Linked DNA regions of Homo sapiens: regions 1 and 3 are each linked to region 2. The links are contacts of gene promoters, found by promoter capture Hi-C in blood cells and fetal thymus (Javierre and others, 2016). All regions are on one chromosome and are shown on one strand. Each heading gives the region's core, a stretch centred on a gene start or on the middle of the fragment in contact. The rest is flanking DNA. Distances are from core to core; before and after follow the strand shown. Region 1 overlaps ARL13B (ARF like GTPase 13B). Region 2 holds the start of ARL13B (ARF like GTPase 13B). Region 3 overlaps ARL13B (ARF like GTPase 13B).

What was found. The method cuts DNA at HindIII sites, captures the fragments that hold promoters and counts their contacts. A CHiCAGO score of 5 or more calls a contact.
Region 1: a contact is called between a fragment that was not itself captured here and the fragment with the promoter of ARL13B in region 2, in 7 of 17 cell types (monocytes, non-activated CD4 T cells, total B cells and 4 more). The highest score is 8.5, in monocytes.
Region 3: a contact is called between a fragment that was not itself captured here and the fragment with the promoter of ARL13B in region 2, in 2 of 17 cell types (fetal thymus and activated CD4 T cells). The highest score is 5.9, in fetal thymus.

What each region holds. Positions count from the first base shown.
Region 1 is chr3:94,034,273-94,038,137 of GRCh38, reverse strand. It overlaps ARL13B (ARF like GTPase 13B), which reads right to left. Exons shown (of 10, transcript NM_001174150.2): 4 at 2,702-2,807; 5 at 1,384-1,586. Among named protein-coding and RNA genes, the nearest start is that of STX19, 7.6 kb to the right of the region's middle. The HindIII fragment of the contact is 4,506 bases long and covers 107-3,865 here.
Region 2 is chr3:93,978,714-93,982,484 of GRCh38, reverse strand. It overlaps ARL13B (ARF like GTPase 13B), which reads right to left and starts at 2,330. Exons shown (of 10, transcript NM_001174150.2): 1 at 2,003-2,330. The coding sequence starts at 2,061. RefSeq lists enhancers at 2,163-2,292, 2,563-2,722. The HindIII fragment of the contact is 5,745 bases long and covers 1,688-3,771 here.
Region 3 is chr3:94,013,965-94,017,801 of GRCh38, reverse strand. All of the region lies in intron 3 of ARL13B (ARF like GTPase 13B), which reads right to left. It overlaps STX19 (syntaxin 19), which reads left to right. Exons shown (of 2, transcript NM_001001850.3): 2 at 2,520-3,437. The coding sequence starts at 2,533. The coding sequence ends at 3,417. Among named protein-coding and RNA genes, the nearest start is that of STX19, 13 kb to the left of the region's middle. The HindIII fragment of the contact is 1,965 bases long and covers 1,160-3,124 here.

The DNA of each region.
Region 1 (3,865 bases), core at 1,110-3,609, 56 kb before region 2:
TACAGTATTAATATATTATTTTTACTTGGCATGTTTTACTGTTTTTCAAAAACACTAGAAATGACTATCTGAACCAATTAGATTGGATTTAGTGAAGTAAAAAGCTTGTTTTTAATCACCCGTCTCCGAATGTCAATTTGCTTTTAATTATGGAGTATTGGCTCAACAGAAGAGGTCTCCTCAAGAGGAGAGGTCTCAGACCACAACTGGCATGGATAAAGAGAAAGAAAGAAAGGGTAAGGAGTATTGGAAAAGCCTGCCATAACATGATCTAGAATATCATTATGGAAAAGGCAAAAACATTTAAAAAGTTACTAACATTAGATTTCTTTTATCCAACTCAATTTTTTTGTTGCTTCTGTTTTTATTTTCTTAGTGGAGGAAAAGGAGTTTTCACATAATTATGGCCATATATTTAATTTTTATAAATATTATATATAAAAGGTATACTTAACATGCATGATTGGTTGTACTGAGCTTTATATGATAAAAATACATACTAAGAAAAAAACAAATATTCTCACAGGAACTAAAACCTTGTATCAACAGCTGCCAAAATCATTCACTCTAATCTGTCTTTTATATAAAGAGATCCCTAGATGAAAGGCACGCTCATATTATTGAGCACTTGGGGATAGAGAGTCATTTCTATAAATATTTCTTTAAGTCCTATTGATGAATTAAATGAAAAATACCAGTTATCAGAGGATTTCCTTCACGGTATAAGGAAGTACCTCATAATGGGTCACCAAGGGTAGTGAGTTCTTGCTCACTGGGCTACAACTATGTTAAACTACATAAAAGGCCAGATGGAAGGCAACTATGGATCAGATTTTGCTTGAGTTGAATGATTCTCTAGCAGCTCACCTTCTATCCTTGCTGAAACTAAAAAGGTTCCTCAGTCTCAACGTTATTGACATATTAAGCCTGATAATTCTTTGTTGTGGGAGACTGTCCTGTGTGTCATAGGATGTTTAGCTGCATCCCTGGCCTCTACCCAATAGATTCCAAGTAGTACTCCACTCCTTCCCCTAGTGGTGAAAACTAAAAATGTCTCCAGACACTGCCAAATGTTAAAAACTACCCTGTGCATTGAGAACCACTGCACTAAGGTACCCACAAGCAATCAGAGACAAAAATTTAAAACTCTGGAAGACAATGGCTACGTAAGGAGTAAATTTAACTATTATACAACCACCAGAAAAATTAGGAATCTACCACCCAAACTTGTACAGAAAAAGATCCACAGAAATACAAAATTTACCTAGTGTCTTCCTTCACACAGAAAGAAGAAACTGAACAGATAAAACTAACAACTGATTCATAAAATTGTTATGTTTTTGATCCTTCAAATGCACTGTGGTACAAAATTAATCTACTTACCTTTCTTCTCGTAATTTTCGCACTCGTTCAGCTCTTTCTTGTTTCTCTTGTTCCTCAAGAGCACGCTGCTCTGTTGTCTCTTTTTGGATGCGTTCATTTAAGGCATCAAAGTCTCTTGCAATAACATGTAGCAGCCAATAAAGGCCTTTTTTAATGGACTTGTCAATTTTCTTTCCATACCCCGAGATTGCTGAACATGGTTCCTAAAACAGAAATTTATTTGACTAAAAGATTAAAAGGTCTCCACACAAATCTATTCATAAACCATTAAGTATAATTAATGGCAAATCAAAATTAAGCCATTTAAGTTAATAATATGAAGCATCTGCTTATTTAACTTCCAAAACATAGCACTGCAATGATTAACATCAGTATATAGAACTTAAAATATTTTACAGATAACATCTGTACACTATGTAAGATATTATAAAGAAGAGGGTGACAGTGCCACTTATAATATTAGAAGAAAAAATTTAACTACCATAAAAAGACATCTCTATTGATTAAAAATGCCAGGAAGTTTTAATTCCTTATACTACAATATACAGCAGTAAACATCCATAAGATTGACAGCCTAATGTTTTTTGAAACCAAAATAAATTATTAAATCCACTGTTCATCTTCCTTAAGACTGTATGACATCTCTCCTGATATGATTTATCTTTTCTTTTTTTGTTTTTTAGAGGCAGTGTCTCATTCTGTTGGCCAGGCTGGAGTGCAGTGGCTGAATTAGAACTCACTGCAGCCTCAGCCTCCCAGGGTCCAGTGGTCTTCCCACCTCAGCCCCCTCAAGCAGCTGGGACTACAGGAACACACTACCACACCCAGCTAGTTTTTGTATTTTTTGTAGAGCTAGGGTCTCACTATGTTGCCCAGGTTGGTCTCAAACTCCTGGGCTCAAGCAATCTGCCCCCTTCAACCTCCCAAAGTGCTGGGATTACAGGCATGAGCTACCATGCCCAGCAAAATAATTTTTCAAAATTCATTATGAATCTCTCATATGTTTAAATTTTGTATTTACACTTTTCTTTCCCATTTTACAAATTTCATGCCATGATGTGTTGGCTATGTTAAAACGCAAATGTGAAGCTCCTTGAAATCATGGAAAGATAGTTCATGGAAATAACAATGAAATAGACAACAAATATTATGGTATTAAGTTATATCAACAGAAAAATGGGAATGTGATTTCATAGGTTACAAAAAATTCTTTGAAAACATTGCCTTTTAATTGCTATCACTTTTATAAAAACCAAGTTATACTGAACCTATTTGAAAGGACAAAAAATTAAAATTAAAAAAAAAAAAAAAACCTTACTATCTGACACAGGCACTTGTGCTCATTGACCAATTTTTCCAGAGATAGACATTCAATGACATCAGCTTCTCCTAAAGCTCCTTCTTTATCTTGTTTATTTGCCAACCTGAAAGATAATTAAAGTACTTTTATACAGCATATATATAATTGGATGGAAACTTAAAGATATTTTGACCACATTCTTTTTTTTTTTTTTTTTTGAGACTGAGTCTTGCTCTGTTTCCCAGGCTGGAGTACAGTGGTGCAATCTCAGCTCACTGCAACCTCCGCCTCCCAGGTTCAAGTGATTCTCCTGCCTCAGCCTCCAGAGTAGCTGGGACTACAGTTGTGTGCCACCACGCGAGGCTAATTTTTTGTATTTTCAGTAGAGACTGGGTTTCGCCATGTTGGCCAGGCTGGTCTTGAACTCCTGACCTCAAGTGATCTGTCAGTCTCAGCCTCTCAAAGTGCTGGGATTACAGATATCATCCACCATGCCTGGCCTGACCACATTCTTTGATTCCCAAGTTTTAAATGTACTGATTACAGAACACACTAGTATCTTAAAATGTTGTAGCATCAATTTTGTCATTTTTCCCTTATTATTGCTAAAATAGTTTTTAAGTACTGGCCTATAAAAGGAAAATCAAATAAAGTGTCAAGAAAACATAAACAAGAGATCAATATGCCAACAAAACAGAAAAAGCTACAAAACAGAAAAATAAGAGGACTAATTTCCACAGGTCACATCCATAAATTATATTCTTATCTTCTTAAAATACAAACTGTAATGTTTTAAATGCCCAAATATTCATTCTGAACTTTTAATATTTGAGCTCATCTACAATTCTAATGTGTGAATGTGTCCACATAAATGTGCAATTTACTGAAGACCCAAGGCCACTTCTAATATACTTGGCAAAGCACTGGGAATTAAAAAAAAAAAAAAAATTGTACTCAATTAGAGACAAACTGGACACCAACAAAATGGAAAACCAATATATTCTACAGAAAAACAGGATTTACCACAATTTACCACTATTTAATTATATAACATAGATTTAAAAGTTTAATAAAATACTGCCTTGCTCAAAGTTTGACAGACTCTTTAGGTTAAAAAAAAAATTAAGTACATAGACTAAGAAATCTAACGAACCCTTCCCACCTATCTTTAAAAATTATCAA
Region 2 (3,771 bases), core at 1,081-3,580:
AGATGCTGACTTTTTTGCATAATAAATCTTTTTTCAAAGCCCACTATGTATTAAACATACACTTACAGCATCTTAATTCAGACTAGCCACATTTCAAGTGCTCAACAGCCACGTGTAGCTCGTTGTTACCCTACTGGACAGGACAAATCTAGATGGTGCTTATTAAAGAAGAAAATACACTCTGGGTTATGCAGCTAAATTTTAATAATGCTTTATTAAGAAAATTCAATTATCTGTTCTACTTGGAAATCAATACATTCTCCTTTCTCTGAACTCTTCTCTTTAAACAAATCATTCCAGAGAGTATATATACAAAAGCTGCTAAGAAAAGGAAAGACTAAGAATGATGAATTAAATTGAACACTCCTTCTTCGAATTACACGTTTTCACTGTTTCTCGTTAAAAGAACGTAAGTTATATACATGCCTTCACAGAAACCAAATACATTTCTTAAAAGCAGACACGGAGGAAAATGAGGGGTCAACTATTATGAATGACCCTCAAGTCTTAGTAGATACTGTGAAATTAGACCAGAATATAATTAAAGCAAATAAATCAGAATCTATGCACCTAAAACAACTCTTTGACTTTTTTCTTTTTTTTTTTTTTTTTTTTTTTTGAGACAGGGTTGCACTGTGTCACTCAGGGAGTGCAGCGATATCGGCTCACTGCAACCTCCGCCTCCCAGGCTCAAGTGATCCTACTGATTCAGCCTCCGAAGTAGCTTGGACTACAGGCGTGCGTCACCGTGCCCGTTTATTTTATTGTAGAAACGGGGTTTCGCCATATTGACCAGGCTGGTCTCGAACTCCAGGGCTCCAAAGATCGGCCAGCTTCGGCCTCCCAAAGTGCTGGGATTACAGGCGTGAGCCACCACACCCAGCCCATCTTTGACTTACAGAGTTGATCTTACTACTTATATTTAAAACATTCAAATTCAGTTAGGAGCTAATAATGGGGAAGAATCTCTAGTTTCATTTAAAGTTACTTTTTTTCCAATCTAGACATGTATTTTCTGTTATAATGTGTAAGTGTAGCTTTTCAGATTCATTCTTTAAAGGATAGTTCATTCTCATGGCAAATATACTTAAAATGTTAACAATTTAAAAAAAAAAACAACTTTGCTTTATCTTACCCTTGGCCCAATTCCAGACTAGAACTATGTGAAGTCAACATTATTTGTGTAACAAACACAAGATCTCTTTATAGGTTAGGCCTCAGTTTCAAAAGCATCAATTTCACTGATTATTTCCTAAGACAGTGCCTGGCACAAGGTATTGTCTTAATAAATATTTTTTGAATGAATGAATATCAAGTAACAGGTACTAATTATTAATACTTCCAGCATTTCAAAATGAAATGTTAAAAAGTGGACCCTTTCAATTAAAAGGTTTTACTAGAGACCGTATAAAAATTGGAAGCTACATTACAGTTAAGAAAACACTATCACTTGTTCTCATTGAATACAATATTTCTAAAGCAGAGTATTATCACTCTCATTTAATATTTAAGAAAGGTGGGGCCAAAATGGTTGAGTCATGTAATTATTAAGTAGTGGAGCCAGATTTCAAGCCCACGTCCTCAAATACAACTGTGTGGAGGTGTGACTTGGAATGGAATGTGCGGATATTATGAAAACTATATTCCATGTCCCCCTCTTTTTAAAAGAATTTCCATTACAAAAGCTTCAGAGGAAAAACACACAATGGATAGTTTTCAATTCCACACACACACACACACACACACACACACACACACTTTTTAACAAATTCAAACCTATTTAAAATATAACAACGGTAAGCATTGTCAATCGCAACAGAAAGTCGACCAGACAACAAGGCTACATCCTCCAATCTCTCCCTCCCGGGACACCCTGGGAATGAAAGCATCCCTTGCGGCCTGGGATAGACTCGTCCAGGCGCGGGGAAAAGGCGGCGCCTCGCCCCTGGGGCGCAGCCATCTCCAACCCCTAGGACGGCCAGGACAGCTGGCTCCAGCCTACCTGACAGGCTCCCGCCACCGCTTGAACCAGCCGCAGCAACTGGCCATCAGACTGAACATCCCGGGTCGCTCCTCCCACCACTTCCCATCCGAGCCCGGAGCGGACACCGGCACCCCGCTCTTCCCCGGGGGCCTCCGGCACTCCGAGACGCCCCTAAAGTGGATAAGTCGGGAGGAAAAGCCGGGAGGGAAGTGAAGGCGGCCGGCCCGAGCACTAAGCCTTGCTAACCGCGTGGGTCCGCGACGACTGCCCTCTTAGCCAAGGAACAACCTGACCAAAGACGCAGATACACCGTAGCCGAGTTAGCGGGACCCGGCTAAAGAAAAGCCCCGCGTCGACGTGCTGACGTTACTTCGAGGCGCGGAAGGCGTTCCCCAGGCAACGCCCGTACTGCGCTCGCCCAATCATCGGTTGAGGTCCTGAGGTAGAGGCCTCTGAGTGGCTGAAGAGTCCTGGCTACCCGCCCCTGCGCGAGACTAGGAAAAGAGAAAGGGGAGTACTCTATAAGAAGGAGGCGGAGCTCGAGGTAGCTCGTTCTCGTAACTAGGCAACCGGAGCGTCCGGAGATAAGCTGGAGGATCCGGGACAAATCTCCAGCAAGGCCTATCTTTATACCTACATAAAATGTGTTGCCAATCCACGGTGCTGTTCCTTTCCTTTCTCCAGTGTCCCCAACTGAGATTCAGAGATCTCAGGTCTTGTGCATGGGTTTTTCTTTTTCTTTCTTTCTTTTTTCTTGTTTTTTGTTTGTTTGTTTTTTGCTCAGGGATGGGGACCCTCTAGAATTCTGGCCGACTTAGGCAGCATGACTACAGGAACAATACACTGGGGCAATTCTTGTAAGTTAAAGACAAGGGGGAAATTCGCTTGCTAAATTTTCTCAGTAGTTCAGATGAGAGTGAAGCCTTAATCTCTAAAACGTTTATTACTGTTACATATGTGAAACGGAATTGTATGATATTTGTTGTAGGGGGGATTGTGATTACAAAAGAAAAATGCATTTCTTGTAGAAAATGTGAAAAATACTAAAAAGAAACAAGATGAAGAAAATGAGATCTCACAGGAGCTCTCAAAGATAACCATTTGGGGCCGGGCGCGGTGGCTCACGCCTGTAATCCCAGCACTTTGTGAGGCCGAGGCGGGCGGATCACGAGGCCAGGTGATCTAGACCATCCTGGCTAACATGGTGAAACCCCGTCTCTAGTAAAAATACAAAAAAAAAAAAACAAAAAAAAACAAAAACGGGTGTGGTGGCACGCGCCTGTAGTCCCAGCTACGCTGGAGACTGAGGCAGGGGAATTGCTTGAACCCGGGAGGCGGAGGTTGCAGTGAGCCGAGATCGCGCCACTGCACTCCAGTCTGGGCAACAGAGCAAGACTCCGTCTCAAAAATAAATAAATAACCATTTTGATGTATGTTTGTTTCAGGATTTTTAGGTACATAAATTGCTGGCTATTTGGTATCTGCAAGATGAAGATTGTTATCTCTTGACTGTTTTGTAATAGTTTATTTTTTAAAGAGGTATGTAATATTTGCATTTCTTTTATATACTTTGGAGAAAAAGAAATGACAAGGACATTCCTGTAGGGAAAAAATTATGCACAATATGTAGGGATCTGTGTGTCCATTCATTTTCTACTTAAATAAATATTTTCAAATCCTGATGAAAGGATAGAAGGCACTGAGAATCCCAGTGTATTCGCGGGGAATATAATGATTTGAGACTAAGATACATATAGGTTTTAAATTAGTCTCTGTCCTTTACTAAA
Region 3 (3,837 bases), core at 893-3,392, 36 kb before region 2:
ACTCCTAGACCTACAATACACTCCCTCGGCTCTTCATCTGCCTGGCTTCTCAACATTCAGTCTCACATCTCAAATATCTGCTTAGAGACCCTGCCTGATTATTGTATCAAAACCTAAAATTATCCCGTTTATCTTTTAAATTGTATATTGTCCTTCTCACCCTAAATTATAAATTCCTCAAGGACAGAAAATGTTAAATATATATTACAGCATTTAAAACTTATATACATATAAGACTTCAATGACTATTTCACAAAATACCAGTCCTTTAAAACCAAAGGAATATTACCAGGACATTGGTTTAACCTTTTACCCAAAACAGGCATCATTTCTGTAACATGCCTGCCTGGAGTCATCATTCCAGAACATCTTGAAAATGTCCAGTGATGGCAAACTCAGCACCTCATGAAGCAGCTCATTTCATCTTGGGAAAGCAATATTTGTTTGAAAAGTCTTCTTTATATTGAATCAAACCTCTTTCCATGTAATTTCCACCCACTGCCCTTTGGAGTTATGCCAAGTAAGTCTAATCTCACTTGCATACACAGACCTTTGTTTAGAAGACAGCTGTATACACACCCTACATCTTCTCTTTTACAGGACAAATATTACCATTTATTTCAATGAGTCTCCATTTGGTATGGTTTTCCAATCTCATCCTTTCCATGCTAGTCTGGTAATTCCTAACTTAAGAACTTCCATCTCAAAATATGCTCAGAAGTTTATTGAGTTCCCCTTACCCTTGCAATTTGCTCTGAATAGCATAGAGTTGGCAGAGTTTAGTCTATCCATACATCAGACTATTATTTATAAAAGCATAGTGACTATTCTGATGGTTCTGACAGAAAGCTTAATTAGGCTGGGAGCGGTGGCTCACACCTGTAATCCCAGCACTTTGGGAGGCCAAGGTGGGCGGATCACGAGGTCAGGAGTTTGAGACCAGCCTGGCCAATATGGTGAAACCCTGTCTCTACCAAAAATACAAAAATTAGCCGGGCATGGTGGCAGGCACCTGTAATCCCAGCTACTCAGGAGGCTGAGGCAGGAGAATCACTTAAACCCGGGAGGCAGAAGTTGCAGTGAGCTGAGGTCGCACCACTGCATGCCAGCCGGGGCATCAGAGCAAGACTCCATCTCCAAAAAAAAAAAAAAGAAAGCTTAATTAATTAAAATCTCCAATACTTTCATAGACACTATTGTGAACCCAAGGGTCTTCTACTCTGTAGATACGAAAATATTTTTCTTATAGCTAGATGAAATATTTTAAATCTATTCCTGTTAAATATATTTTTGTTATTTTTAGTATAAAGTTCCACACTATTTTAATATTTGAATCCCTACCCTGTACTTCAACATACTAAAGATTCCTCCAAATTTTACACCATCTACACATTTGTTAAGTATGCCTCCTATGACAACATCCAGATTAATAGAAATATTTCCATAAACATATCAAACACTGAGTCCTACAGCATAACAGCATCACATTCAGAGACCTTTTTTTTCTGGTTGATATTAATATTATATGTGGTCCAATGAGCTATCTGTACTCCCTAACAGCCTCTTCTTATCTTCAAAAATGTCTTGAAAGACATTTCTAAAATCAAGTTGCTCTGTGATAATAGCATTTTACTGCTTTTTATTCCCTTCATTTTATATGTATGTATGTCATTTCATATATATCTATATCATTAAATATAAATTATGTACATCAATTTGATTCTTACAGATAACTACCAACACAGCATGTGATAAGTGTCAATATCATTATTACTCCTAAAATAAGATTGTATATAAATATATTCTCATGTTTATAAAAGTATCACCTAACACAAATTGATATAAATTTTGTTCTAAGACAGTCTGGATATCTTTGCAAAAGAATGCTAAGAATGAGAAATCAGCATAATCAAACCAATGTTTTCACATATATGCAACAGCTAGAAAAAACATTATGCCAAGTAATACGTTAATTCAGAGGCTTCGGAAAATTTAAAATAAATTCAATATTATCCATATAGCTTAACGTTCTCATATAAAATCTGTACTGTCACTACAATGGTTTTAACTGAATGATGCATATTTAGCAAAATGAGTATTTTTTAATATTACATTGGCCAAATTAACCGGAAACAGTATCTTTAGTAACAAGGGCATTTTTGGCATCTGAAGACTAATCCTATAGGTTGAAGGTATAGTCAAAAGCATTCTTTATTACAAAAAAAAACTATCATGTGACAAATATTTTTGACCAACTGTGTCTGCATCACTGCTTTCTCAGCTATTGCACACAACTAAATAGCACTCACATGCAAAGTAACTTACAAATTATTTTATATTTCTTTCCCTATTTAAATGGTTTTTATGAGGAAACTCATTGGTTTTTTCTAACTTTTTAACCTCATTTGAGAAAACTAGGAGAACTTTTGCTGGGATATAGACAGTTATGTGAAGTCAACTGCTACTGGGGAAAAATACCAAATTTCTACTTGTTCAACACAAAAATTTTTGCTTCTTAGGAGGAAAGGGAAGATGAAAGACCGACTTCAAGAACTAAAGCAGAGAACAAAGGAAATTGAACTCTCTAGAGACAGTCATGTATCAACTACAGAAACAGAGGAACAAGGGGTGTTTCTACAGCAAGCTGTTATTTATGAAAGAGAGCCTGTAGCTGAGAGACACCTACATGAAATCCAAAAACTACAGGAAAGTATTAACAATTTGGCAGATAATGTTCAAAAATTTGGGCAGCAACAGAAAAGTCTGGTGGCTTCAATGAGAAGGTTTAGTCTACTTAAGAGAGAGTCTACCATTACAAAGGAGATAAAAATTCAGGCAGAATACATCAACAGAAGTTTGAATGATTTAGTTAAAGAAGTTAAAAAGTCAGAGGTTGAAAATGGTCCATCTTCAGTGGTCACAAGGATACTTAAATCTCAGCATGCTGCAATGTTCCGCCATTTTCAGCAAATCATGTTTATATACAATGACACAATAGCAGCAAAGCAAGAGAAGTGCAAGACATTTATTTTACGTCAGCTTGAAGTTGCTGGAAAAGAGATGTCTGAAGAAGATGTAAATGATATGCTTCATCAAGGAAAATGGGAAGTTTTTAATGAAAGCTTACTTACAGAAATCAATATCACTAAAGCACAACTTTCAGAGATTGAACAGAGACACAAGGAACTTGTTAATTTGGAGAACCAAATAAAGGATTTAAGGGATCTTTTCATTCAGATATCTCTTTTAGTAGAGGAACAAGGAGAGAGCATCAACAATATTGAAATGACAGTGAATAGTACAAAAGAGTATGTTAACAATACTAAAGAGAAATTTGGACTAGCTGTAAAATACAAAAAAAGAAATCCTTGCAGAGTACTGTGTTGTTGGTGCTGTCCATGCTGTAGCTCAAAATAAAGAAGCTATTTTAAAACTTTTTCCAGCTTTACGGTAAAAGATAGCTTATATTTCAGTGTCTTGTATTGTTTTTCTCCATCTCATGGATCCACTCACATACCTTTCATCACTGTTAAGTTGTAATTTTCCCCTTTAACCCTAACCCACTAAAATTTCAGAAACTTCTGTAGCCAGTTACATAAAACACACTTTTATTTAATTAAAGTACAAAAAAATACAGTTACCATCAACTCACAAATTAACTATTGAAAATGAGATGCATAATCTTAGTCTTCTGGTCAGGTATCAAGCTCTATATTATACATTTCTCTCATGTGTTAAGTAGTAATGACTACCTAGGCAATCCATTTGGCTGACTGGAGAATATTTTAATAGTTAAGAATCATGCTACAATAAAGCTAAACCAAACTAGAACCTTTA